2 separate regions of the Homo sapiens genome follow, and region 2 is linked to region 1. The links are contacts of gene promoters, found by promoter capture Hi-C in blood cells and fetal thymus (Javierre and others, 2016). All regions are on one chromosome and are shown on one strand. Each heading gives the region's core, a stretch centred on a gene start or on the middle of the fragment in contact. The rest is flanking DNA. Distances are from core to core; before and after follow the strand shown.

Evidence for each region. The method cuts DNA at HindIII sites, captures the fragments that hold promoters and counts their contacts. A CHiCAGO score of 5 or more calls a contact.
Region 2: a contact is called between a fragment that was not itself captured here and the fragment with the promoter of CA10 in region 1, in 2 of 17 cell types (M2 macrophages and erythroblasts). The highest score is 5.4, in M2 macrophages.

What each region holds. Positions count from the first base shown.
Region 1 is chr17:52,154,500-52,161,677 of GRCh38, reverse strand. CA10 (carbonic anhydrase 10) reads left to right here and starts at 2,964. Exons shown (of 9, transcript NM_020178.5): 1 at 2,964-3,952. The coding sequence starts at 3,892. RefSeq lists a silencer at 2,115-2,409. The HindIII fragment of the contact is 15,466 bases long and covers 1-7,178 here.
Region 2 is chr17:54,882,489-54,889,666 of GRCh38, reverse strand. No RefSeq gene overlaps it. Among named protein-coding and RNA genes, the nearest start is that of TOM1L1, 15 kb to the left of the region's middle. The HindIII fragment of the contact is 320 bases long and covers 2,555-2,874 here.

The DNA.
Region 1 (7,178 bases), core at 1,715-4,214:
TCCCCAAGATGATATTTTTCATTTTACAGAGCATATAAGGAAGTGGTGTGACATGACTTCTGAGTTTAGACTTTCCAGCTATGGTCTCTACACTACTGATTTGCAGCTGTGGAGCCTTGGGCAAATAACTACCCTGGTATTGTTTTATTGTCAGTAAAAGGGAAGTGATAATGACATTTATCTCACCATCACATTATGATGATTAAATGAGATAATTTATGTAAGGGATTCAGAATCTTCACACATAGTCTTCACACATAACAATCAATACACATAATACTTCACACACAACAATCAATACACTCAAACTTTTTTTAAACTAACAAATACTGTCATGTGAGTTGCCTTTTTTAAAAACTGAAAGCACTTAGTGGCAGATCACAGATTAAATATTCTTTGGGAATGCTGGAGGTGAGTATGCAGACTGAAAGGGTGGAAATAAAGTATTATTTTACTGGCATTGGCTCTTAAAGCAGAATATAGAGGGATATATGGTCTGCAGATTTTTTTGAAAGCAAGGATAATGCATTTTCAATTACAAAGCCCAAGCATCTTGCCACAGTGTTTGACACATATAAGACACTTAATAATTGCAGAATTCATTAGTAAATGAGTGGGTAGTGACATAAAAATTCAGGCACCATGCTTCTGCTTCCAGAGGAGAGACCTCTTCTGCCAGCCTATCTCCCCACCCAAGCAGGGATGGTAGGTCGCTGTCCACGGTTCTGAACTCTCACCAGGCTGGAATCTGCTCATCTTTGTCAGACTGCTTTTTTTTTTTTCTTTCTCCCTCTCTCCTCAAAAAAAGAAAAAGAAAAAAGAAAAAAGAGAGAAAGAAAGAAAGAAAGAAAGAAAGAAAGAAAGAAAGAAAGAAAGAAAGAAAAAATAATAATAATTCTTCATGCAGTCTACTTTCAAGGCACGGAGACAAATGCCCCCATATATTTCCCAAATGGGCTAATTCTCACTATCCGGAATTCTTTTAATGTTCTGAAGTTTCATGCTTTTCCCTGCTGAGCCTGGAAGCTCTCTACATAAGAATGCTGGATTTATTTCATCTGGGCCTAGATTTTTAATGTGTTGACCACCTAGAGTCCTTGGCCTTTGTTTCACAGAACAGATCTCACGGCCACATCTCCTTCTTTAAGAGTAGGCAGGTCTGTCGGCGGTTCCTTTTTCGAATCCCTAGAGTCGGTGGGACTACGTAGCTCTGGCTCCCGCAGCCGCCCAGCCCAGACAGCTCAGAGAGCTGCTGATCTGCTCTGCGTTCTCTCTTTTTCCTCCCTCTTCTCCCCGCCACTCAGCAAAAAGACCCGCCAGACTCCTGGGCAGTTGGAGTCCCTTCAAGAACCCTGGGAGCACTGTAATGTAACTCCTTTAGCTCCCACTCCGCACCCTCAGATGTCGCACAGCCTGGGTGCTGGGATCAACACGGGAAGATTCACTAGATTGACTCTGTGCGGATGAACGGGCACCCTTTCCTTCCCCTCCTCCATCTCCACTTATCTACCCTTTGTGCAGTTCTTAGACCGAGGTTTATACTGAAATAGCTTCTAAACATCAAATATTAAAAGTGGATAAAAAATCCCCGCGGGGTATGTGTGTGTTTGTGTTTGTTATGTGTGTGTTCATCCGCGCTTGTGCAAAATCTCCTAACGTCACAGTTCCCAATCGGGACAAGCGCGCCGAGAAATCCTGGATCTTCCCAGGGATTCCCTCTACGCTCCCTCCTCTTCTTCAATAACCCCAAAGAGGTAGGTTTGAGCTTTCGCAAACCACCACTGCAGCGATGGAAGCAGACAAATCTGTTGAGATTTTGTCTTTCCCCTTTCGTTCCCAGCCCTCTTAGGCAAGCAGTTCTGAGCACAGGGTTTTCTTCAATTCCCCTGCATCCACACTGCAACCGGGTGCAAGTCTTTCCTAGGTTATAGACAGCCCGCCTCCCCACGAGACCTTCTGCGGACTGGCTGCCCCTGGCCTCGGCCTGGGTGGGTGGGTGGTGCTCGCGCCGCCCCTACTTTCCCCTGGGGCCCTGGAGAGCCGCGCGCTGGGTGTGTGTGTGTGTGCGCGCGCGGGTTTGGTGGGGAAATCTCCTTCAGTGGAAGCTGCTGAGTGTCGTTGGCGGAAAGTATCCTGGAGCCCAGCAAAAGCCTCCAAAGCACTAGAGCTTCCCTAAAGAAAAGCAGAATAAAAGAAAGACAAGAAGGGAAGCCCGTTCCTCTAAAGCCCGGGTTTCCAATAGTCCCGGATCCTCCTGGAGTTGGGCGAAGGCGCAGTTGGCAGCAGCCGCTGCTGGCACCCGGACTTGGAAAGGCGGTGTTCCCCCTTTTCGGGAGGAGGGAGGCAGGGACTTGCAGGCAAGAGTTGCACCTGGTCTAGGAACCTGCAGAGAAAAGAACTCTGGGGTAAGTAGTGTTCTGGCACTGGCACGGAAAGGGGTAAAGGGTGGGGGGCATGAGAGGGACGAAATGGAGAGGGCAGGGAATGAATTATGCAAAAAAATCTCCAATATTTCGCAGCGGAGGGAGAGCACAGCACAGCACTCCCAGGATGAGTCCTGCCTGGGTCTCCCGCGCCGAACCCGCAGCACGAAGTTCTTTTTAAGAAGAGAAACTCGAAAATCCTGGAGGGTAACAGAGGCAGCCAGGGCGGGGCGGAGTGCGGAGGCGGCTGCCAGGGACTGGGGCCGAGGCGGCGGCCAAGGTGGCCTGAAGCTGTGACACCCAGCCTCCTCCTCCTCCTCCTCATGGCCGCGCTCAGCCTCACCTCCCCGCCCGGGCCTCCTGCCTCCGCCCCCGGGTGCCGGGCTGCGGAGCTGACGCTGGGACGCCCGGCGGCGGCGAGGACGCTCACCTGGCCAAGCCTCCTTCTCCTCCTCCCCCTCCCGCCCCCACCTGTCCTCCTCCTCTCTGAGTTGGGAAGCGTAGGGATCCGTAGGCGAGGAAATAACGACCCCTGCAGTTGTATTGCGGAAAATCTCGACAGCGGCGCTAGTTGCGGGCGATGGAAGCCAGGCAACTGGGGGTTCTGGGGAGTTCAGGAAAATAGCAGAGGAGCAGGAAGGGCGCGCGCGACCTGGAGAGTCTGTGTGCCCCCACCGCGCCCCAGTCCCCGGGGCCCAGCCCTTCCCCTCGGCGCCCTGGACGCACTGCCGGAACCCGGCTGAGAGGCTGCAGGCTGCGCGCGGACCTGGGGAGCAGGGAGGGTCGGCGGAGGCTGCCGGCGGCTGGCGGTTTCGGGCAATAATCCCTGCCTCTCTTTCTCTGTGTGTCTGCTGTGTCTGCTCCTTCCCCGCCCCCCGGAAGCAGGAGAAGAACTGCCCCGGAGCGCAGCAGCCACCCTCCGACCATGCCCCGGTGAGGGGGGCGGACTTCGAGGGCAACTTGCCGCGGACTGCCTGGGCTTAGCCAGCGAGCTACGCGCTCCCGGGAGCCCGGAATTGCACGGCGCAGCCCGGCGGGGGGCTATCGTCTATGTCTTCTTGGGGCGCCAGACGAATCGGGGTCTCGTTTTTGCTGGAAGAGCCCAGTGTTGGTGGCTTCAGGTGGCTGCTGCCGCCGCCGCCGCCGCCGCCGCTGCTAGTGCGGTTTCCGCCGCTGGTGCGAAGAGAAGAGACACGCGAGCGGGGAGACCTCCAAGGCAGCGAGGCATCGGACATGTGTCAGCACATCTGGGGCGCACATCCGTCGAGCCCGAGGGGAGATTTGCCGGAACAATTCAAACTGCGATATTGATCTTGGGGGTGACTGTCCCTGGCCGGCTGTCGGGTGGGAGTGCGAGTGTGCACTCGCTCGGAAGTGTGTGCGAGTGTGTATGTGTGTGTGCCGTGTCGGGCTCCCCCCTTCCCCCCGTTTTCCCGTCGAGTGATGCACTTGGAATGAGAATCAGAGGATGGAAATAGTCTGGGAGGTGCTTTTTCTTCTTCAAGCCAATTTCATCGTCTGCATATCAGGTACGGGACGCGCCGAAGTCACTGGCTGATTTGGATTATGTTGTGATGTCTGGGGTGTATGGGGTTTTATTGTATATAGCCGCGGGGCAGAGAGAGGGGTGGCGAGACCCTTTGAGTTCTGCGGGTTTGCCGCCTTCAGAATCAAAAATCTTCTCAGCCCAAGGGTGTGTGAATGTGTGTGTTTTGCGGGGGGGGGTGGTTAGGATCTGTGTGCAGTCCTAGAAGGGTGAAGGAAAAAGTGGTGGGGGATGAGAAAGAAGAGGCAGATGGGTGTTGATTTTCAACTGCTTTCCTGGCTGAGAACTCTGGCGCCGAAATCCGAGCCTTGGCAACAACCACCCCCATCCCCTGGCTTTCAAAGTTCCCAGACTCGGTGGTTCCTGGCTGGCAAAATGGACGCGGGGCCCTGCCCGGGTATCTAACCACTTTCAAGAGACTGCGGGAGGATGCGGGACTGGAGAGTACCAGCAGGGATCAGAGATATGTCCTCCATGCCTTACCCAAACACATCAGGACTGATTGTGATGCTTTGAAACCTGCTGACACACCCTCCTCTACCCCCCCAATTTTCTTGTTAAAGCACTACAGTGTCACAAATACCACTTTCTTTACATCACGGTGTTTTTTAATTCCCAGTAGCAAGGATGTGCTGGCTCAGACCTCTCAGTCTACTTGGGCCTGTCTGTGCTTTTAAGAGCAAACGGGATTTCAGGGTGTTGAGGTGAAAGAGGTTGGGCTTGTGGACACCTGTGCCTGAGTGTGTTAGGACGAGTTCTGGTTTTTGAGCACTGTCTTTGTTGATGCAGGGAATTGGGGTTGGGAGGAAGCTGGGAGGGAAAGGGGAAAGCCCCTGGACCAGCAGTATTCCCCAGTTCAGTGGCTCCTCCCATTGAAGGCACCCACCCCATTTCCCTTCACACCTGCCACTTAAGCACCCAAGGAAAAGCCCATTTGTAGTGCTCCCTTCTGCCTGCATTCTTCTGCAGAAGTGGGGACTCGGCCAACTTCCCATGAAGTCATCAGAAGAGGAGAGCAGGATATTGCCCCTTTGAGCAGCCACATTTAAGCAGCACTGGGGTGGAGAGACATGTTTCCTGCCTCTTCCTTCAGCCCTGTCAATCCCCTCCCTTTAAGCCAGACCTGATTCTGGATAGGAGAAAACAACCCTAGTTCTGCCCTCACCCTGGACTCTGTTCCAAATCCCAGTCTGGCTTCCAATTTTCTCCTCATAGGGAAGGAATGGGACTCTTATCCGAAATCATTCTGTGTGGGGCTTGGCTACCCTATTAAGAAATTTGTCTCTGTGATACATCAGTGAGATGTGTTGTGTACCTGGCAGACAAGAAAATGTGCCCTGGGGTCACCCCAACTCCTCTAGTGGGACTTCTATTATTCCATTCTGCATCTAGGAGTGAAAATTCTCAAGTGACTTGTAAAGGTTTATATCAGTCATATGTCCAGATATGAAGTGGGTGGCATCTCACAAGGCCATATTTTACATCTTTCTCTTCTACATGTCTATTTCAAACTCTCTCTCTTGTTCCAGAATATTTGACTAGTTATAAAATAGCCTTTCCTTACTTCTCCCCAGTGTCATTAATAATTTTCAAATCAGACAAGCCATCTGAGTACCTTTAAGATTTATAAAGGGTTAACATTGATTAAGGCTCTGGATTTCCTCCAGCATCCTCTCTGTCCCCAGCCCTTACCCTGAATTTCGCCAGGCAATCACCGAGGGGAACAGGCTGAGAAAGGGTCTGATCTTAGCCTCCAAAAAAAGCATTAGTGGGATACCTGTCACAGCTATATTTGATTTGGTGTATCAGCAACTAAATTATTCAAATGGAAGCATTAGGAGGGGGATTTCCAACTCAGGAGGAGTGCTATGGAGTACATGGCCTTTCATATGTATTTACTAAATAATCATTATTGCTATGTAATGAGAGGATAAAAGTGTAAGCAAAATTGCTAGCTATTAGCTAAACACAGAAAACTAGGTTAGCGTTCCAAATGCCTAGTTAGGATCTGCATTAATTTGCACTTTATGAAGACATTTAGGCAGGGATGCAACATCATATACTCTTTATTTTACACATCCATAAACTTTAAAAGGCCATTTCTTCTCCATGGTCAGGGTGGCCTCATCCTCCTGTAAGCAGAGCCACTCATTCAGTAATGCCCATGTATGTGAGAATTATTATTAGTAATATGATTATGACTCACAATTGCTACAGTTTGGGAGACTCAGACTCCATTCTTTTTCCATCTGGCAGCCTTAGGATGTATAGGAAATGCAATGCACTAAGGTTGAATATTTGTGGCTTTGAGAGAGTTTAGTGGATCTTTCATTTCTGTCTCCATGATTTGCAGTTTTAATTTACTCATGACTGAGCTCTATTGAAAGGAACATAACCCTGTGATCATAGAATCTACTAAATCTTAAATTAAAAATATTAAAAACAAAGCACCTCTTTAGCATCTTGGAATGAATTTTCCTGACCACTAAGTGGGTGCTAATCCTTACAGAGTTACCAGACATTGATACTTGAAGCATTGATAGAGTTGGCTTCATTATTGAGAAACACCAGGCTGGAAAAGGCTAGTAAAAGTCTGTAGTCTAAACACTTTACAGAAGGAAAATGTTGGTAGTAGCTTTGTCATGTGGAAGATATATTGACTGAATTTCATTTGGTGGCATTTGCTTTCAGGAAAACATTGGCGCTTTGTAGCTTAGTGTTTTGTTAACCAAAGGTTCCAACACTTCCTCTAACCCACCCCCAAATTTCTCCTTGGGCCTATTTGGATATATTGCTTAAAGTACAGACACCTGGGCTTGGCATATTTGGTGGTTCTGCACTAATAATTTGGTTTTGATGAAACTGTTGGAAAATGAGACTGTTTGGCCAGGCTTAGCTAGATGCTGGGTCAGTAGCATGTATGTCTTTTATTTGTGAGATCACATCAGCTTTGGCTACTTAATGCAACATAGCTAGGCTAAAGGGCATGATTTGGGAGTTCCTCTGGCTTTCCGTTAAACTCAGATCTCACTTTTCTGAAAATGTAAGGCATCCAGGGTCTGTGAAGAGATCAGAGACAGAAAGAGAGAGGGAGAGAGAGAGAACCAGAATGATTTTTCCGTGTACTGCAAGAGCACCATTCCCTTCCTACCAAAGCAGCTCAGATCAGCAAGAATGTATGCTTAGCAGCACGAGGAGAGAAATTTCTT
Region 2 (7,178 bases), core at 1,465-3,964, 2.7 Mb before region 1:
ACATAGGAACAACAATAGCATTGGTTGCATTCCAGGGCTAAATAGGAATGCAAAACAGGTCATGTACAGTTTTGATATTGCTAAATCAGGGGTTTGCATCGTGATTAGAGTTGCATTCTGATTCATGTTAAAAAAAAAGTTATTAAAGATAGTATAGAATCAGTTTCACTTTTAAATGAATTAATTTATATCTTCATTTAAAATCATATATAAGTATATACTTGTATATACTTTTCATGTAAAATCATACATATATAAGTATATACTTGTATGTGTACATGTTTATTTAGTGTATGGCGTGTATATGGACCAAAGAAGACCAACCTGCAGCTTCCCTGAGATCTTTGGCCTCAGAATATCTGCTATACTCCTGAGCCCTTCCTAAGAAAACCCATTTACAGTTCCTTTCCGGTGCACTTTCTTACACTGAACGCTTATCCGTATTCTCAATCAGGAATCAGCAAATATTGTCTGTAAGAGGCCAGGTAGTAAATATTTTAAGCTCTGCTGGCATCTAGTCAACTCTGTCTGCCATTGTAGCACAAAAGCAGTCATGGACGATATATAAACTAATGAATGTACAAACATAGATGGCAGGTCAGGTTTGCCCTGCAGGTCATACTTGGAAAATCCCTGTGCTGAATCATTCGACCCCAGCATTTTGGCTGATTCGATTAGGAGGGGGCATCCAAAGTAAGGGTGACAAATCTGTTAGCCAGTCCCAATATGTTGGCCTGGCAGGGACCTTGTATGAGATCTTTGTAATAACTGGTGTCTCTAGATAGGCAGACAGATGGACAGACAGAGCAATTGTTAGTGGGATCAGCTGCATCAGGAGCCAAGAGTAATCAGAAGCTATCAGTAAAGTAAAATGAAAATATTTTAAAAAGATAACCAACTAGAGGGTGGGGTAGTTAGTTAATAGGATCGAGACTAGAGAATTGGAGAAAATTCACATTGGTGGGGGTTGTGGGTCTTGGGAATTGTGTGTCCTAAAATAATCTTACCATGATTAATCTGCATTCCACCTTCAGTCTAGCCATCGCTGGGTTCCTGGAGGAGTTATGTTTTTCCTATTTCCACATGTAGCCTCACAGCTGATTTTCCATTGCTAGAGGTAACCTCGATGAATATCTATTTCTGACAACTCCGAAGAGCCTAGGTGACATTCTCTTCTTTCTGTAGGTTGGGAACCAGAGGTGTGTGTCAAATATTTATCAGCAAATATTGGCTACGTTGGGAGATTTCTCCATCATTTGTTTTATACTTTCTGCCTAGTCGCTGAATGGATTGAGTAAGCCTAAGTCATTTTTTTTCTTGAAAATGCACAGCCAGTTTCTCTGGGGGCATTTGACGAGGAGGAAGCATGGATGTGTACCCACCTCAGGCCTGACAGTCACTGCTCAGTGAGGCATCAGGGCCCCATATGGTGAAAACTGTTCCATGACAAGTCTGGTTTATTGCAGTTGTTGCTTCTATTGAAAATCTTGAGGAAAAACTTTTCATGTTTCTCACCTGAGTGCAGTGAAGGTTTCTGGACTGCCTGGGAAAAGGTTTAAAGGAAGGTTACATTATTAATCAATACGCTTTTATGCCCAGTTATCTCTGACCAGAGATGAGTCCTTCACATTGCTCTTAACAGTTCCTGGAACTTAATTCAACCCTTGTCATCTCTGACAGTGTTTTATGGCCTCCTGCTCTGGCTGCCAATCTTAAGACAACTTCGATTTTGGAAGAAATTTCCATTCTCTTCTTCCACCATACAAGAAAAAAGGTACAATTTTGTAGCTATTCAGGGTAGAAGGACGTTTTATCATTGAAGGAGTGAATTCTTGGATGTGTTAATATATCTCCTTTCATAGGTATGTTGAAGGACATTTTACTTCTGGCTCATTCTTATTTTTTTTATTTTTTATTTTTATTTTTTGAGATGGTGTCTCGCTCTGTCACCCAGGCTGGAGTGCAGTGGTACAATCTCGGCTCACTGCAACCTCTGCCTCCGAGGTTGAAGCGATTCTCCTGCCTCAGCCTCCTGAGTAGCTGGGATTGCAGGCTGTGTCAACATGCCCAGCTAAGTTTTAGTAGAGATGGGGTTTCACCATGTCTGCCAGGCTGGTCTTGAACTCCTGACCTCAGGTGATCCACCCGCCTCAGCCTCCCAAAGTGCTGGGATTACAGGTGGGAGCCACTGCACCTGGCCTCATTATTAAAAAAACAAACAAACAACAACAACAACAGAAAACAGTTAATTGCCAAACGTTGCATAAAACATGGCACCTTGCTTTCAGAAACCGTTTTTTATAAATCTGGATGTACATTAAAGTTCATATGGACCCCCTAGGTATAACCTCTTGAGAACAAGAGAAAATAGACATCACTACCATTATCTTTCTGTTAGAGGCCAATCAGCATTAATAACATACCTGGCATTTGCACACTTGCCATGTGCTAGTCACTGAGGCACAGAGTATTGATAACTTGCCCAAGGTCTCACAGTAAGAAGCAGATACATGTGCAGCACTATCCTGCTTTCATGACATTATGTCCATAAGCTTAGGCTCCAGAAAACTTAAAGGAAGTCTTCATCCACAGAGCATGGAGATCTGAAGGGAAAACCTAGGTGTGAGCAATGAGATATTTCATCTCTCTAAAATTTCCTTTTTTCTGTAAATAGAAGAAATAAGCTCCCCTGAGGATTATATTTCAAGTAAAGAGTCAAGCAGTCACTGCGATGTATTGCTACCCACTGTGTGGCTGCCCTCTATTAGGCACTTTCACAATGAGTTTACAGATCAGAAACAGGCAGTTCAGGGGCCAGCTGATGAGAGATGGACAGAGGCCTGCCTGGGGTATACACTTGTTTTACATGAAGCTTGTCTTTTCTTTATACAGAGCTGTGCTCCATGCTGCTTACATGGCTGTTTCATGTCCTAATTAATTTTGGGGCTCTCTGTTGGATTTTAATTACAGATCTATTAATCCATGGGAAGAGTTGACAGATGCTGTAGGTTGGTCATAGCAAATTACTAGGCAAGTGCTGGGTAGAAAGTCCTGAAGACTCTTAGTAATTGACTCACAAAAAAAACTTGCCACTTGAAAGTGGGGAGCACAACCAGAATATCTTTAGCTACCTAGAACAGCATTTTTAAAAGGAAAGACACCAAGGTGGAAAACACTGACTCAGTTTGGGCTTGCATTTTCTATTGAGGTGGGAAGGGAAAGTTAGGGATGTCATTAATAGAATGAATGAGGATGGGATTGGGCTAGGTCACCTGGAAAAACTTGAGCAAAGTCCCTTGGGATGATATAAACATAATGCAGTCAAAAAAGAATAAACAGTTTATTTCTAGCAGGGTTTGTCCTCAAACCTCAATACAGTCATGCAACACATAAGAACGCTAAGGTCAATAGCAGGTGGCATATCCGATGGTGGTCCCTTAAGATTATAATGGAGCTGAAAAATTCATATCACCTAGTGACATCATAGCTGTCCTAACATTGTAATGCAAAGCATAACTCATGTGTTTGTGGTGACACTGGTGTAAACAAACTTACTGCTCTGCTAGGTTTATAAAAGTATAGCAATATAATTATGCACAGCTCATAATACTGATAATACTAAACAACTATGTTACTGGTTTATATATTTACTATGTTTTTTGTTATTATTTTAGAGTATATTTCTTCTACCTATTAAAAAAATGTTAACTGTAAAACAGCCTCAGGCAGGTCCTTCAGGAGGTATCCAGAAGCATTGTTGTCACAGGAGATGACAGCTCCATGCATGCTATCGCCCCTGAAGACAGTGGGATAAGATGTAGAGGTGGAAGACAGTGACATTGATGATCCTGACCCTGTGTAGGCCTAGGATAATGTGTATGTTTGTGTCTTAGTTTTTAACAAAAAAAGCTTAAAAGTAAACTAATAATAATTTAAAAAATAAAAAAATATAAAGGATATATAGCCTGAATAAGGATATAAAGAAAGAAAATATTTTTGTATGGCTGTACAATGTGTTTGTGTTTTAAGCTAAATGTTATTATAAAAGAGTCAAAAAGTTTAAAAATTAAAATATATGTAAAGTGCATTAGGGTTCTCTAGAGGAACAGAACTAATAGCATATGTGTGTGTGTATGTGTGTGTGTGTGTGTGTGTGTGTGTGTGTGTATATATATAAAGGGGAGTTTATTAAGTATTAACTTACATGATCACAAGGTCCTACAAGGCTGTCTGCAAGCTCAAGGAGCAAGGAGAGCCAGTCCCAGTCTCAAACTGGAAGAACCTGGAGTCTGATGTTCGAGGCCAGGAAGCATCCAGCATGGGAGAAAGATGTAGGCTGGAAGGCGAGGCCAGTCTTGCCTTTTCACGTTTTTCTGCCTGCTTTATATTGGCTGGCAGCTGATTAGGTAGTGTCCACCAGATTAAGGGTGGGTCTGCCTTCCCCAGCCCACTGACTCAAATGTTAATCTCCTTTGGCAACACCCTCACAGACACACCCAGGATCAACACTTTGCATCCTGCAATCCACTAAAGTTGACACTCAGTATTAACCATCACATAAAGTAAAAAAGTTACAGTAAGCTAATGTTAATTTATTATTAAAGCAAATACTTAAAATAAATTTAGTGTAGCCTAAGTGTACAGTGTTTCCATAGTCTACAGTGGTGTACAGTAATGTCCTAGCTTTAACATTCAGTCACCACTCACACCCTAACTCACCCAGAGCAACTTCCAGTCCTGCAAGCTCCATTCGTGGTAGGTGCCCCATACACGTGTAGCATTTTTTAATCTCCTACCGCATTTTTACTGTACCTTTTCTATGTTTAAATATGTTTAGGTGTGCAAATACCTGCCATTGTGTTCCAGTTGCCTACAGTATTCAGTAGAATAACATGTTGTGTAGGTCTGTAGCCGAGGAGCAATAGGCTATACCATCTAGCCTAGGTATATAGTAGCCTAAACTGTTTAGGTTTGTGTAAGTACACTGTGTGGTGTTTGCACAATGATGAAATCACCTAATGATGCATTTCTCCGAACTTTTCCTTGTCATTAATGGATACATGCCTGTGTAAAACTTTAGAAAGAATTTGGATTATGGAGAATTCTTTTTAGCCTTAGTTAAGAGGCTAGAACCAAAGCTGGGGAAAATGACCACTTTTTCCTCCTAAGTTCACTTCCAATTTTGGAACTTTGTCCCATTGTTCTGAGAAGAAGCCATTCCAAGAGAGCTGGAGTGCAAAAAAGCCCCTTTACCCCAAAGCAAAGATATCCGCGCCCTGGCTGTGCCCTGGCCTAGCCCTGGTAAGGGGGACATCAGAAGTGACAGAGCTGGTCAGCCTCTTCTCATTTGGAAGCAGCCCTGGTTGTAGCTGGTGTTTGAGGGACCCCTACAGAAAGGGGAGAAAAATCCATGCGAATAAGGTGACATTTTATCATATGTTAAAACTTCTACCCTTCAAAGCACAGCCTGCCAACTAAGTCTGTCATCCAGCACTCCTGCCCCTTGAAGGCTGAAGTGTTTTCCTCCTCACCCTGACTCATCCCTGGGCGGGAGCAAAAGGAGGATGGGGAGAAGAAAGGAGCCTTGAGTTGCCCATAGAGGTCAATACCTGTCTCTGTTCAGAAATCAAACCACCCAAGTGTTGAGATTATAAGGCAGGATTTCTTTCTGTCAACAAAAGCATCCTCTTAGGAATGAATTGGAATTACAGAGAAAAGAATTTAGAGCCTTTGAGAACTTCCTAATTAGTAGAATGGTGAGACTGTAGAATAAACGAAGAGAATGGAAAATCTCTCTAACACCTAAAAGGGAAAGGTAAACAAATGTAATAAGTAGTGTTATTACAGTAAGTTATGACAAATGTAATAAGTAATAAGAAGAAGTTAAGTAGGCCTCCTACCTTTTCAACATAATTCTTACCAATCTTTTAAGACCCTCAAATTAGGTGCCCCTTGTGTTTGCTTCCAGCACACACTTGCATATTTACTGTGATATCTATTCATGGACAGAGAACGTAGTCTATTCTACTTCTAAATATTGCTTTTCATTACAGAAACATGGTGTTATTTTTAAGAAGAGTTACCAAAACAACTAAATTCTAAATTTTGCTTTTCCTTACAGAAACATGGTGTTATTTTTAAGAAGAGTTACCAAAACAATTACAGTCAAGCATCACTTGACAATGGAAATATGTTCTGAGAAATGTGTTGTCATTGGGCAATTATGTTCTTGGTTATCTGAACATCATAGAGTGTACTTAACACAAATCTACATGGTACAGCCGATTATACACCTAGGCCATTTGATAGCCTGTTACTTCTAGGCTGCAAATCAAATCTGCATGACATGTTATTGTACTGTAGGCTATTAGAACACGATGATAAGTATTTGCATATCTAAACATTTAAACATGGAAAAGGTACAGTAAAAATATGATACAAAAGATAAAAAATGCTACACCTGCATAGGGCACTAACTATGACTAGAGTTTGCAGGACTGAAAGTTGCGCTGAGTGAGACAGAGAGAGAGTAGTGAGTCAGTGTGAAAGTCTAGGGCATTATTGTGCACTACTGTAAACTATAAAAGCACTTAGTCTACACTAAATTTATTTTGATTTTTTTCTTCAGTAGTAAAACAACTTCAGCTTACGATAACTATTTTACTTCATAAACTTCTAAATTTTTTTAACTTTTTATCTCCTTTGTAATAACATTTAGCTTTAAACACAAGCATATGGAACATCTGTACAAAAATATTTCTTTATATTCTTATTCTATAAGCTTTTTTCTTTTTGAACAGCCCTTCCCTCACCTCCCCTCCCCTCCCCTTCCTTCTTTCCTTTCTCTCTCTCTCTGTCTCGAGACAGGGTCTTGCTTGGTTGCTTATGCTGGAGTGCAGTGGCACAATCTTGGCTCACTGTAGCCTCGACCTCTCAGGCTCAATTGTTCCTCCCACCTCAGCCTCCTGAGTAGCTGGGACGACAGGCACATACCACTATGGATAACTTTGTAATTTTTATAGAGACAGGGTTTCATCATGTTGAAACCTGTTTCAACATGTTGAGCAAGGCTAGTCTAGAACTCCTGGTCTCAAGCCATCTGCCCTCCTCAGCCTCCCAAAGTACTGGGATTATAGGCTTGAGTCATCACGCCCAGACTGTAAGGTCTTTTCTATTCT